Linked DNA regions of Homo sapiens: region 1 is linked to region 2. The links are contacts of gene promoters, found by promoter capture Hi-C in blood cells and fetal thymus (Javierre and others, 2016). All regions are on one chromosome and are shown on one strand. The core of a region is centred on a gene start or on the middle of the fragment in contact, and the rest is flanking DNA. Distances in the headings are between cores, read along the strand shown. Region 1 has its middle 270 kb from the start of PLD5. Region 2 holds the start of PLD5 (phospholipase D family member 5).

Region 1 (7,446 bases), core at 3,834-6,333, 260 kb before region 2:
TTTAAAAAGTGAAAGGCCAGCCCTGCTTTAATAAAGCTGAGAGATGCAGAGAGTTAGATGTGAGAAAATAAGTATTTATGCAAAAAAATTATACTTCATTTTACGGAAAAAATAACCATGGAATTACTTCCTTAACCACGAATTAACATTGCTAGAAGTTAACTTGTATAAATTAACTTCTATAGATCAACTTCTACAAGGGCATTCTATAATGCGCTTTATATATTATATATAAAATTTATATATAATATATAAAATATATATAATATAATATAATATATATAATATAATATACATAATATAATATAAAATATATATTATATATAATATATTATATATAAATACATAAAATATATTATATAAAATATATATTTATATTTATTATATATTTATATTTAAATATATATTATATATAATTATATATAAGAATATATATAATATATATTTTTATATATAAGAATATATATAATATATATTCTTATATATATAAAACATATATTTTTACTTAAGATTTGCTTTATTTTTAACAGTTGTGAAGTATAGATTGCAAAAAGTACATAAAAGCATATATGTGGGGTTTGAAGACCAATAATAAAACAAATATCATGTGCCTGCAAACAATGTTAGAAAATGAATTATACTGTAGGAGCTCTCTGTGTGCATTCTTCAATTGCATTATACTTCATATCCACCAGAGGTAGTAATTAGCTGAATTTTGTTCCCTGGTGTTTTCCACTGTTATTACTATACATTTTTATATCCCTATGCAATATGTCGATTAATTCTGACTGAATTATAGAATTGCAATCAAACCTATGTAGATTTTCTATAACTGCTTAATATGATGTTTTAAAAATTATCCATATTGATATTTGTGTTTATAATCCATTCATTTTCATTGCTGTATGTTGTTCAGTTTATGTATATAAAAGTTATTTATTTATTTCAACCTACAATTGGTGAGCATTTGAGCTGATTGCCATTTATTGCTGCAAATAATATTATTAACTAAAATACTTGTGCATGTTTCCTTAATGAACATGTGCAAGAATCTTTCTGATGTATGCATGAAACTGCTGTGTCATAGGGTGTATACATGTACAACTCAATGTCTTACTGTTATCAGGATTCATTTATTACTCATGCTACATGTTCAGTACAAGTCAGTTTGGCAGGATTCTTAATGCTGTCTTCACATAAGGACTTTTATTACATAATTTTCACAATCTGGAAAGTTACTTGCCAACATGGAAGATAAAGAAAAAGTGGAAAATTATACCTTGCTTCTTAAATTTTAGTATCCAGAAATAAAATGTATCACTTCTGTTCACATTACATTGGCTTAAAGCAAGTTTCATAGTCACATCTAGTTTCATGGGAGCAGGGAGTTCTATTCTTATTGTTTGACTGGATGGAAGACAACTGGTAATATTGGTGGGGATCTCTAATATCTACCGTAGCCCGCCATCTAGACACCAAATATTTGGCTCAATCTCCTTCACTCATACAGAATACATAAATATCCTTCCTAAGGGAATCAACACAAAAGTCTTGTCCAGTCATGGCACAGAGCTCAAAATTCATGATTTCTGGGTGACAGGCAACAGTGCCTATATGAGGGGTTATATTAGGGAGCGGAAGGTGGAAGGTGTTATCAGTTGAATTGTGTCCAGTAAAAAGATATGTTGAAATCCTAATCCCTGGTGCCTGTGAATGTGACCTTGTTTGGAAATAAGGTCTGTGCAGATGTAATCAAGTTGTGATGAGGCCATACTGAATTCGGGTGGTCTTAATCCAATGACTGGTGTCCTTATAAGAAGAGTAGAAGAGATAGATGCAAAGGAAGAATGTCATGTGACAATAAAAGCAGAGATTAAAGTGCTGGGGCTGCAAGCCAAGGAATGCTGAGGCTCACTGGAAAACCATCAGAGCCAGGGAGGGAGAAAGGAGGATTATCCCTCTAAGCTTCAGAGAGCATGTGGCCCTGCTGACCCTTGATTTCAGCTGTCTGGTGTCCAGAACAGTGAGACAATACATATCTGTTGTTTTGAGCCACTCAGTTTGTGGTGCTTTGTCACAGCAGCCCTAAGAAACTAACACAAGTGGGTAATAAACATTTGTTTCTACGTCAGGTCAGATGTAATTCCTCTTGAACTAGAAACGTATGAGCTGAAAAGATAGGCTCTCACTCCCTCCCCTACCACCAACACACATTTACCCACTGTGCAGTGCTGGAGCAGAGATGTGACAGGGCAAGTGTGCTCTGCACGGGGAAGGAAGAACTGAGTATGTAGTGACCCGTGGGGTGGAATGTGGTAGACATGACCGCTTCACTGCTATCCAGCTTCCCTTTCCTTTCAGTGCATTAGGATTGTTTTTCATGTCTCTTTGAAGTGAGTCATAGTCATGGAACTGGTTCTAGCAAATGGGTTTGGGTGGAAATCATTGGTCCACGACTTTCCAGCCATCATGAAAACACTTTTTAAGATAAAGCCTTCATCAGACTGAGTCCCAGAGTGACTCTGATAAACAGAGCTCCCTTATCCACCCGCATGAGGCATGCAAAATGAATGGGAAATCTTTGTTGCTTTAAGCCACTGAGGTTTGGGGTTGTTAGTCACCACGGCAAAACCTAGCTGATGCAGACAGATGAAATGAGCATGTAACTCAATGGTCTACTCTTGTAATTACAGTTGATCCTTGAACAACGTGGGCTAGAACTGTGTAGGTCCACTAGCACGTAGATTTTGTTCTGCCTCTGCCATCCCTGAGACAGCAAGACCAACCCCATCTCTTTCTCTTCAGTCTACTCAATGTGAAGATAATGAAGATGAAGACCTTTATGATGATCCACTTCCTCTTAATAACCAGTAAATATATATTCACTTCCCTCCGATTTTCTTAATAACATATTCCTTTCTTCAGCTTACTTTTTGTTAGAGTACAGTATATAATACACATAACATATAAAATGTGTATTACTTGACTATGTTACGAGTCAGGCTTCTAGTCAACAGTAGGCGATCAGTAACTAAGCTTTTGGGGAGTCAAAAGTTATACATGGATTTTCACCTGCACAGGGAGCTGGTGTCTCTAACCTCTTGTTCAAGGGTCAACTGTATTGCATTTTATTATAATAAAATAAATTAGTATCTGAATCTGATTTCTATTATCTAAATCATAATATTACACCATTTATTCTTCAGAATGAACTTCTTTGGTCCAGGAATGTAATGACTTCCCATCTAACTTTCTGTTCACTTCACTGGGCTTTATTGTTACCATTATCACTTGCACCCATTCATATATTTATTGAATGCTTGCTATATGTCAGGCACTGTTTTAGACATTGGCATTTAAAGATTAAGAAGACATAGTCTCTGACCTTAAGTAATTCACTGTTTAAAGAGGTAGACAAACATGCAAGCACTTTGCATCATTGCAGAATGAGAAGTTCTACATAAATCTTTTTACTGTCTATCCTCCTGGGTCAATGGGTCAGGCCTGCTGTGAGCTGCCTTTGGGAGCACATTCCTAGTGTGAGAAGTCATTGTTGGGTGCAAATGGCCAGGGTCTTGGATGGATAACAAGGGAGGTCATAACACATGATTATTTATAGAGACCCAGTGTTAAGAAAAAAGATTGCCATGAGAATCAAGAAACCAAACATTCTGAGTCTTGAACAGGCAAAATCACCCTAGGAGGCAGAGCCAGGTCTGAGCTAATGCAGTGGGCAGGGCAAGTTAGGCGTGGCCCAGCAAGTCATGCTGGAGAGAGGGACTGGGGACCAGCAGAGATTATTGAAGGAACCAAGGTGGGCTTGACACTTTCCCAAAGTGTTACAAAAGCTAAGAGGAAGTGAATGGCTGTTTAAGGATGACTAGGGATTTCCCAGTAATCAAACAAACAGGATGTATTTCCAGATAGATAAGTGATATGGTTTGGCTGTGTCCCCACCCAAATCTCATCTTGAATTATAATTCCCGTAATCCCCACATGTCATGGGAGGGACCCAGTGGGAGGTAATTGAATCATGGCGGTTTCTCTCATGCTGTTGTCATGATAGTGAGTGAATTCTCATGAGATCTGATGGTTTTATAAGCATCTGGCATTTCCCCTGCTTGTACTCATTCTTTTCTGCTGCCCTGTGAAGAAGTGCCTTCTGTCGTGATTGTAAGTTTCCTGAGGCCTTCCCAGCCATGTGGAATGTGAGTCAGTGAAACCTCTTTTCTTTATAAATTACCCAGCCTCAGGTATTTCTTCATAGGAGTGTGAGAACGGACTAATTCAACAAGGAATGTCAAAAACCATGGTGGGCAGGGGAAAGGAACATGAAATACTCCCTAAGACTAAAGTAGAGTTTGTGGAGATGGCATGGGGGAGCTGGAGATCCAGACAATTGCAAAGAACATTGTAAAAGAGGGCAAAGAGCTTGGACTTGATTTTAGAGACAATAGGAAGCCGAATGAAGTTTTTAAGCAGTTGTGATCTGAGTTGTTCTTTTAGCTGGAGTAATTTCGCAGCCTCATGGAGAAGCAGCTGGTATGAGGGGGTCTGTGGCAGGACAGCTGGGCAGAGGGACCCCGCAGTATCCAGAAGGAGACAGTGAGGGGCTGGAGCAGGCAGTGGTGCCAGCACTGGGGAGGAAAGACCAGAAAATAAATACATTGAAGATTTGATGCCTAACTTAATGTGGGGATAAGGAAGACATTGGTAAATTATGCAGATCACCACTTCAAAAAATGATGATAAAAACCAGGACTGGAAGTCAAATATCTCAGTTCCAATTCTAGTGCAGCAACGAACTGGCTGTTTGACATTAAGAAAATCACTTTACCTCTCTGAGTTTATTTATCAAAGGAAGGAGTTAGCTGGAAAAATCAAAATGTTCCTTCCAGATTGAAAATCCTATTTTAAGCTTTTTTCCCTTCACTATACTTAGTTCTAAAATCAGTGAGATGTGAAACCCCTGCTGTTTTTCTCTAAAGTAAACATAGATGTATATATATATGTATCTCACATTGTCTTAAAGACCCTGAGGGTCTAACATTTATTGAAAATGTTATGAGACAAATGATGAAGCCGATGACTTGCCCATGGAATTTGACCTTGATAAAACAGCACATCATAAACAGACTTAGGGAGAGGAGATGAGGGGAGTTCAGAGATAAGCCAGGAAATATGAACTGGGCAAGACCGTTAAAAATTGAAACAGTGTTTCTCGGTTGCTGTATTTGTGGAAAGCTTGTGGGTTACAGAAATATTGAACTTCAATGCTTGAACCAAACAGGTAATGAAACTAATTGGTTTTTAAGGTGTTTGGTCATGCATATCTTCCTCATCATTTTAGAAGGTTCTAGTTCCTTCTAGTGGATAGTTTATAAAATCTTTAAATACAGGCTTCATGATCTGAGGTGAGTTCCACAGTACAGTACAGTAAAAGTGGCCACAAGCCACACATTTAATGGGACTGATTAGAAATTAAAAAATGTAGCCATTTCTCTTCATCACATTGCCAGCTGATCTCCTGATGAATGTTTTATGTTAATGTGTGGATGTTCTTTTTGGTCTACCTCATTTAGCGAAGCAGCTTGAAAATTTTTCATCCCACATTTCAAATATTTTGTTCCAAGGATACTGAATAATGAAATGTGCTCCTCAGCATCTTAAATAATAAATCCGTTTATTCATGAGGCAATCAATTTTGTAAACTTCATGTAATTTAGGTTTTTCCGATGTAATGTGAGATTTTCCAAGAAAGAGGAAGGATATACAGTAAATAGAATCTTGCCTTTTCCTTTTTATTTTCCTAAGGGTACTATTAAGCCTAAATATGTCTGTCACACAGGCTCTTAAAATAACAAAATAACACTGAAAAATTGAATGTTTCACCCATAGGCCTTTAGGCTTCAGGCTTTAATATCCTTATAATCAACAATGGCCTATGTCAGTGATGGAAGACAAATAGGTAATGACTTTTGGAGAAATAGTGTTTTACCTTCAGTGTGCAAGAACACATTCTAAAGCTTCCAGTGCTATGACTCAGCCTTCAGGGATGTTAAGGAGAAAGAGGCAAAAATTTGGAGCACGTCTCCTGTGGCTCTGAGGAAAGGCAGAGAGAGAAAGCCTGTAATTACCACCTAAAAGTCCCTGGGGCTCTGTCATGGGCATAATTTTGATTTGAGCTGGAGTTTGTTTAGGGATAGGTAAGAGGAGCTATGTTATGCAGTTGGGGATGGGATACTGGTAGCGGGCAAAAGTGAGGAAGTGAGGAGATTATTTACATCCATTCATTCATTCAATAAATCTTTGTTGAACCTAGTATTTTCTAGGCATTGCTGGGGATAGAGCACTAAACGATATAGACAAAAACCCTTGCCTTCAAGGAGCTTATAGTGTAGTGCGGGAAGCTAGGCAATAAACAAAGAAACAAGCAAAAGTTACAGTATGTCAGAATGTGATAAGTGTTTATGGAGAAGAATAAAGCTGGAGAATGGGATAGAGTGTGCTGGTGGGCATAAGAGTACTATTTTAAACAGAGCAGTGGAGGAGGTCTCCCTGATAAGATGATATTTAAGAAGAGAAGGAGGTGAGAGAGAGAGCCATTGAGGAAGAGGGCATGTGCAAGGAAAAAGGCCTCCCAAGTAAGACGAAAAACAGCATGAGCAAAGAAAGGCCTGGAGACAGCAGTGCACTGGCTTGTTCAAGGAGCCAGATGGTTAGAGGGAGCGACCCTAAGGAAACAGCAGGAGAGTTGTGTGTGGGATGTGGGGACTGTCCAGGGTGTGACGTAGGGCCTTGTAGATTCCTACTCTGCCTGAGATAGAAGCCGCTGCAGAGTGCTGAGTTGAAGGGTTAAGGTGCTCTGACACGGAGTTCCAGATAATCACTCTGGTTGCTGTGCGGAGAGTAAACTATAGGTGAATGCGGGGGCAAGGGAAAGGGTGAAGCAGGCGTGCACATCAGTGGAACTTTCAATAATCCAGATGAGAGATGATGGTGGCTTGAACCTGGGCGAAAGCAGTGGCAATGAGGCGTGGTTGGATCCTGAGTATATTTTGAAGTGAGAACCCACAGGACTTACTGATATGGATATGTTTTACAAGATAGAGGAGTCATAAGTGAAAAAATTAATTCTGTCTGAGCAGCTAGAAGGATGATGTTGCAAGATTGAGGAGACTGGGGGAAGTGTGAAGGAAAAGGTTAGGAATTTCTGGACATGTTGAATACAAAATGACTTCAAAGCATGGAGGAAAAACGAACAAAACCTGAGCCCCCTCAATTTTAATGTGTATTGTTTAGGAATACAGATAGGTGGGATAAAAACTTTATAAAATGGAAAGGAATGATAAACACAAAATATAAGATAGTGGCTTTATCATTCGGAGAAGAAAAGGCAGAGTGATGGGGTAGAGAAGGAACATACAGGTTAATGCAATGAAATTG
Region 2 (6,791 bases), core at 2,942-5,441:
CAACACTACACCTGTGAAAAATACAACTTATAATTGCTAAGAAGTATATATTTGAGATTTTTTTATCGGACATGGTGAAAAAAGAAATCCTTTATTGAGAGTCAATGAACCTGGCTTTTTGACCAGACTCTCTGACTTACATGGCTTTGGGCAGGTCATTTAACCTCCATGAGCTTTGGTTTCCTCCTTTCGAAAGATGGAACTGATAGCAAGTACCAAGACTACTTTCAGATATTTTTCCAAGGAGTAAATGTGATATGTGCTACAGATGTAACTATTGTGGAAATGTAAGGTATTATCATTACTATGAAAGTTTTAATAAAATACTCCCACTTCTTGATACTTTTGGTCTTAAATTTTATGACAATGCAAAGTGCCTAATTCAGACAATATTAACAATTCCTGGTCAATGACATCTGTTAAGTTTAGGTTTGAATTCAATAGAATTCAAATTTGTAGCTGAGTGCAGTTTCTATAATTAATTATAAGCAATCAGGATTAATTGATATAGCTGCTAATGAAAATGATAACTTATTAGAATGACATAAAGAATATTTCTGGGCCTGAAAGTTCTAAGAACAGTAACATTGGACTCTATAGTTTATACAGAAATTTCTCATGTGTCATCCCTGTAGCAATCACTTGAGGTAGCAATGATTATTCCCCATTTACTGGATGAACTTGAAGGCTATGGAAATACAATGAAAACCATGAAAGTCACAATTTAGTAATTAAAGGATCTAGTACTAAAATCTAAATATTGTAATGTCAAATCCAGTGTTTTTCAAAATAAAGAAGCAAAAACATGTTGCCAAGTGTTAGCACCCATTCAGTCATTTATTCACCATAGTTTATTGGAAGCTTATTATATGTAAGGCACTAACAGCACGGTAAAGAATCAGGAGTGGCTCCAGCTCCCAAGAAGCGAATGGGCTAGTAGGATGGATGGTCCATAACACCTGTGTTGCATTCAGAAAATGTAATGGCTATGAAAATGTGCTGGAAAAAGTGCTGTGGAAGTTAATGTAGAAATTCAGTAATTATACATTTCAGTAATATTTTTGGTGCAAAATTCTCATATTATACCTGGCCATCTTCAGAAACACTATTTTTCTTCCCTACAACAGTTTCAGTTGGGTTCAATTTTATATGAAATATTCTTTTGAAGGTCAACAAGCAAGTTCCATATTACTGGCATAAACGATTAACTTGGACAAGAATCCAAGATAGAAAAATAATTATGAATAAGTCTGCGCCCAGGTTTATTTGAACTTGTTGGGTTCATTGAGTCTGGCACTGCATACCAAGTAAGTATGAAACTGTAAAAATTTATATTTTGACTAGTATTTTTGATCATAACAAATGTGATCTATGAATTAATTATAATGCTCAATTCAGTAGTATGCTGTCATATTTATGCCACCAGTGTACCTTCTTCAAAAAATAGAGATTGGCCGGGCGCGGTGGCTCACGCCTGTAATCCCAATACTTTGGGAGGCCGAGGCGGGCAGGTCACTTGAGGTCAGGAGTTTGAGACCAGCCTGGGCTACATGGTGAAACCCTGCCTTTACTAAAAATAAATAACAAAAATTAGCCGGGTGTGATAGTGCATGCCTATAATTCCAGCAACTTGGGAGGCTGAGGCATGAGAATTGCTTGAACCTGGGAGGTGGGGATTGCAGTGAGCCGAGATGGAACCACCGCACTCCAGCCTGGGTGAGAGAGCAAGACTCCATCTCAAAAAAAAAAAAAAAAAAAAAAAAAAAAAAAAAAGAAGGAGATAGTAGCAACTACTGCAGTCACTATGTATAGTCCTATAAAGGTATAGTTTAAAAAAAATCTATTTACTTTGAGAATCTGGCACAATATGGAAACCATTTGTTTAAATTCTTCTATGGTAGAACAGTTCATTATTACTCTGAATTGGATATCTATCACTTGTCAAGGTTTGGCTATATCAAATACCTAATCTCATACAGCAAAAGGCAGAGGTATTCTTTGCAGAAGGGCAATAACATCTTTCTGTTAACAATATTATAAAAGACTGTATAATTGTTTGTCGTCATTTAAATTGTGTGGTTATACTTTAAAGAAAGCATAAGCTATGGAGGCTAAACTTTAATAGTAAAAACTGGGGGACAGTGAATAGTAGGGCAAAGTGTAATAATAAAAAAATCAGATCGTGCCTGTAATCCCAGCACTTTGGGACGCCGAGGCTGGCGGATCACTTGAGAGACCAGCCTGGCCAACGTGGTGAAACCCCGTCTCCACTAAAAGTACAAAAATTAGCTGGGCGTGGTGACGTGCACCTGTAGTCCCAGTTACTCGGGAGGTTGAAGCAGGAGAATCGCTTGAACCCGGGAGGCGGAGGTTGCAGCGAGCCGAGATGGCGCCACTGCACTCCAGCCTGGTGACAGAGCGAGACTCCATCTCAAAAACAAAACAAAACAAACAAACAAAATTATCAGAGATGCTATACAATGGAATGTATAGTTTTCACAGCCTCACCTCCGACAGGGTCTTGCCCTGTCGCCCAGGGTGCAGTGCGATATCGGCTCACTGTTGCCTCCTCTTCCCAGGCTTCAGCGATCCTCCCGCCTCAGCCTCCCAGGTAGCTGAAACCACAGATGAGCACCACCACGCCTGGCTAATTTATTTTATTTTTAGTGTAGGCCCAGGCTGGTCTGGAACTCCTGGGATCAAGTGATCCTCCTGCCTCCTCCTCCCAAGGGGCTGAGATTACAAACCTGAGCCACTCCGCCTGGCCTTCACAGCTTTTCAATCTGGTTCATATCCTTGTTTTGAAGTGTAATTTCTGCTTCTGCTTCACTTTCCTCACTGGAAAGGAGGGTTAATAACATTTATCTTGCAGGATAACATGAGACTTAGAGATAGCCCACAGGTCGGGGCATCTATTGCACAATATAGTTCAGCTCCTAAGAAAACCAACCTAGCACAACCAAAATGTGTGTATTTGTGTTTAGTTGTTTCATCCCCATATTGAATGTGCACAGGATTTTATTTCAACTACTATTTTTACTATACCATTTTTTTAAATGGAGACTTTGAAAAGATATGAAACACAATCCCTGTCCTCCTAAAAGTTTGTGAAATCCCAGCCAGAATGTCTTTGAAACCGTCATTCAAGTAGGGCAGTTCTGCCGAGGGCTAGAGAGCCTTCAGTTTACCCTTGGCAACACCCTCTAAAATCCCCTGTATACCTCTCCAGCTTCCATACACTTCCCAAGCTTTTAACCAGACACGAGACACCCTGAACACCAGCTGTTTAGCATTTAGATAAAACCAAAAAATGTTTCGAGAGGTTGACTCCAAAGATAGCAAAAGATGAAGAGATTGAAGATTTAATCGCGAACAAGCCACCCTATTCCTAATAATCATCACGCTTGGCTGGGCCCCGAAGGAAAAGCCTGGACCCTAGGGGCCTAGAAACAGAGAAAAGAAACAAATGCACAGCAGTTGGGCCACGTCCACCTAAGGAACAGTCACCGCACAAGCGGAGCGTTGCAGAGGAGCCCTGGATCACCCTCCCAGGATCGGAATGGGTGCGGCCCGGGGAGCCCGGTTCTAGGTGGACACCGAGGGCTGGGGAGCAACCGGTCCCGCGTGCCTGCCCGAGGGGCTACTGCCCCCGGGCGTATTTGCATCGCCACACCATCGGATGAAAGTAGCGTGTACGGCTCCAGAAAACACATGTCTCTCGGCTATTTTCAGGGGGGAATGCTGGGCACCCTCTGCTCTAAGTCCCTTGGGGTGGGAAGTTAGTGAACTTTCAGAATGGGGGAAGGCGCAGCCCAAGCGAGCCGGGGGCAGGGTGAGGGGGCGCCGCTGGATAGAGATGGGGGAAGGGCGGAGGTGGTTTCCTGAGTGTCTCCCTCCGGAGCCATCCCCGCGCTCAGCCAGCAGGACCGAGGAGGCGCGGAGACGGCGCTCACTTCTCCCCTCGCCTGCCGGCTTTCCAGTAAAGATGCGCCAGGGAGAGGTGTAGCCTGCTCGGGAAAGGCGGGTGCGGAGCGGGAGCGCGGCCGCCCGGGCCTGGGCGCGGCGGGAGGGGCGGCGGCGGCTCCTCACTGCACCAACCTGCAGGCGCGGGCTGGCTGGGCCAGCCGCGGCCCCTCCCACCGCACCCCACCCCCGCCGCCGCCGCCGCCCCGGGAGCCGGCCCGGGTCCCAGTAGGTGCCGCAAGGAGCCGGCGAGCGGAGCGCCCGCTCGGGACCGCAGCCGCCGGGCGACGTCGCCGCCGCACCGGGCACTTCTGTCTCCCCGGAGCAGGTTCCTTTCCCTCCCTGTCCCCTCTCGTCCCCCTTCTCCCCGTCCGTCCCCCTCCGCCCCCGCCCCCGCCCCCGCCCGCACCTCGCCCTCCCTCCTTCCGCCCCGCGCCTCCCGCGATCGCCCCCTCCCGCCCGGCCGCGCTCCCAGCTGGCGCTCAGCACCCCGCGCTCCCCGCGCCCGCTCGCTCCTCCAGCTCCTCCAGCTCAGTCTCCAGCTCCACCTCCGGCTCCCGCTGGGCCTCCCGCTCGCCCTCCGCGCCCGGCTCCCCGCGCGCCCGTCCCGAGTCCGCTGCTCGCCGGCGGCCGCCCGGTCATGTCAGGATGGAGATCCGGCAGCACGAGTGGCTCTCGGCCTCCCCCCATGAGGGCTTCGAGCAGATGAGGCTCAAAAGCCGCCCCAAGGAGCCCTCCCCAAGCCTGACCCGAGTGGGCGCGAACTTCTACAGCAGCGTCAAGCAGCAGGACTACAGCGCCAGCGTCTGGCTTCGGAGGAAAGACAAGCTGGAGCACGTAAGGGCGACTCGCTCCCGGGGGCCTCGGCCAGGCACCTGCCGCATGCACCCTCCCCGTGGTGGTGGCATGAGCGCGCGCGGGGCGCGGGGGGCAGGCGAGGGGATCCTGGCAGGCGCCGACGTCCTAGGTCGGATTCGGGGGCTTCTCTGCCTGCAGTTTCTTGCCTTAATGACCGGGCTGCGGGGAGGGGAGGGCAGGTTCCCTTTCAGGCTCTTGGTCCCTGCCGACCCGACCTGCCCACCTGCGTCTCCCGGTAGGGTTCATTTGCACGGGGTTCTGGAGGTGCCTGTGCAGAGTGAGCACGAAGGGGAAGTGCCACCAGCGTGGCTCCGAGCAACCTGGCGTTGCATGGTAGTGGGCTTTAGAGCGGCGTTTGCCCGCGTCTTTGGGGGCTGTTTTACTCAGTCCAAAAACTAGCAAATTAACGAATGAGTAAAGTTGGCGCCGCTAGCGACCAGCGTGGACCCGCGCACAAGCCATTAGAGTTTTTTGCAGAGTGTCCGCTGGGATGAGCAGTTGGTGATCCTCTCTACTTGAGCCCAACTAGGGAGAGATTTGCGCGTTGCAAGGAGAAAGGCTAAAAGCGAGCGGATCGTCGGGCTCCCCAGAAATCCTCCCCTCTGGAGGGTGGGAGCCGGTGAGAGGGGACCTCTACTCCCAAGGAGTGCCGACTTCACGCGAAGTGAATTGGCTCTGGAGTTGAGCTCCTAAGGCTTGCTATTTTGAAAGAAAAAAAAAAAACCTTCTAAAAAGGCGTTTAGTGGATCCACAGTTTCAAATTTGATCCATCAGCATCTTCTTAAACCAAATGTTAAAATTAAACTAAGAGAATTATCTCAAGAGTGCAGCACAACTAGCTAAGGAGAAGATGCTATTTCTCCCTGCAGAGCTGCAGAATCCAAATTGAGTCTGCTAATGGAATGTGGAGGTTTCCTTGTATTTGGGTCAGGACGCCAACAATGATAAAAAAGATAAGACCAAGAACTCCTGGAACTCACGCATTTCCAACTGCTGCACCGACCTGCTTCCCATCTGCCCCCCAAAGCACTCCTCCTGGGCTCTGCAGCACCAACAGGCTTCTTCCCAGGAGGAAACACGCGAAGAAGGGGCATTTCTCTATTATAATAATCTGAAAGGAAGGTCTGTGCCTGCTTTCTGAGGGCCTGATGAAGTCACTGAAAGCTCTAATATGAAGCTTTGAGTTGGATAACAGCACTATTTTATGTGTAGAGAGCCATTTGCTAATGTCAAAGGGATGCCTCATATCCTTAAGACTATGGAAGTCGCTGAAGGTTTCTAGGATGGCAAGTTGTTTGAAAGGCAACGTATCCATTAAACATGCCCTCTCCAGAATTAGTGAAGGGGCTGGTGGTGTTATTAGTTTAAAGGGGGCAAACAGCATCTTTATGCATTACATGCAAAGAGCATGTAATCAACCAATGATGTGGCTGATTTTAGTATCAGGGATAACAGTCTAGCCTTGGGAGGGTGATAGAACGTATCTTCGTTTTAGTTTCACTCTGAATGTATGTTCTTTTGCAGTTTGTGCTTTTAGCTGGTCTATTTCCTTTATTCTCTTACTGAAAATCAGTGGTGCAGCCTTCTATGACTATGTCTTGAGTCATGAGCGGTGCACGCATTATACTTAAATGCTTTCTCACTTTTAGATTTTCATTGAAAGTATCAAGTCATACCATGTGTGCCACAGCAGTCTCACCTTTCTGCATGAGTATGGGATGCTCAGCCTCCTCTGAGGATTGGAGACCAGGGAAAGGAAGATGTGGTTATTTGAAAGCGTGTGAGCATCTATGCTTTCTTCTTCACTCAGATACTCCAAAAGAGAGCATTGCATACATTTTTAAAAAAATCATTCTCCTCATTTGATATTTAAATCAGTGTAGCATTTGTTTTACTTTTTCAACTACATTTAATGAGAGATGCATATATCTATTCTGATGTTTTTCTCTACACACCCTTTCAATTAGAAA

What was found. Contacts are between HindIII fragments. The CHiCAGO score rates a contact against its expected background, and 5 or more counts as called.
Region 1: a contact is called between a fragment that was not itself captured here and the fragment with the promoter of PLD5 in region 2, in 2 of 17 cell types (total B cells and naive B cells). The highest score is 6.6, in total B cells.

What each region holds. Positions count from the first base shown.
Region 1 is chr1:242,786,809-242,794,254 of GRCh38, reverse strand. No RefSeq gene overlaps it. Among named protein-coding and RNA genes, the nearest start is that of PLD5, 270 kb to the right of the region's middle. RefSeq lists a silencer at 5,954-6,248. The HindIII fragment of the contact is 326 bases long and covers 4,921-5,246 here.
Region 2 is chr1:242,522,097-242,528,887 of GRCh38, reverse strand. PLD5 (phospholipase D family member 5) reads left to right here and starts at 4,191. Exons shown (of 10, transcript NM_001372062.1): 1 at 4,191-4,800. The coding sequence starts at 4,612. The HindIII fragment of the contact is 2,750 bases long and covers 3,251-6,000 here.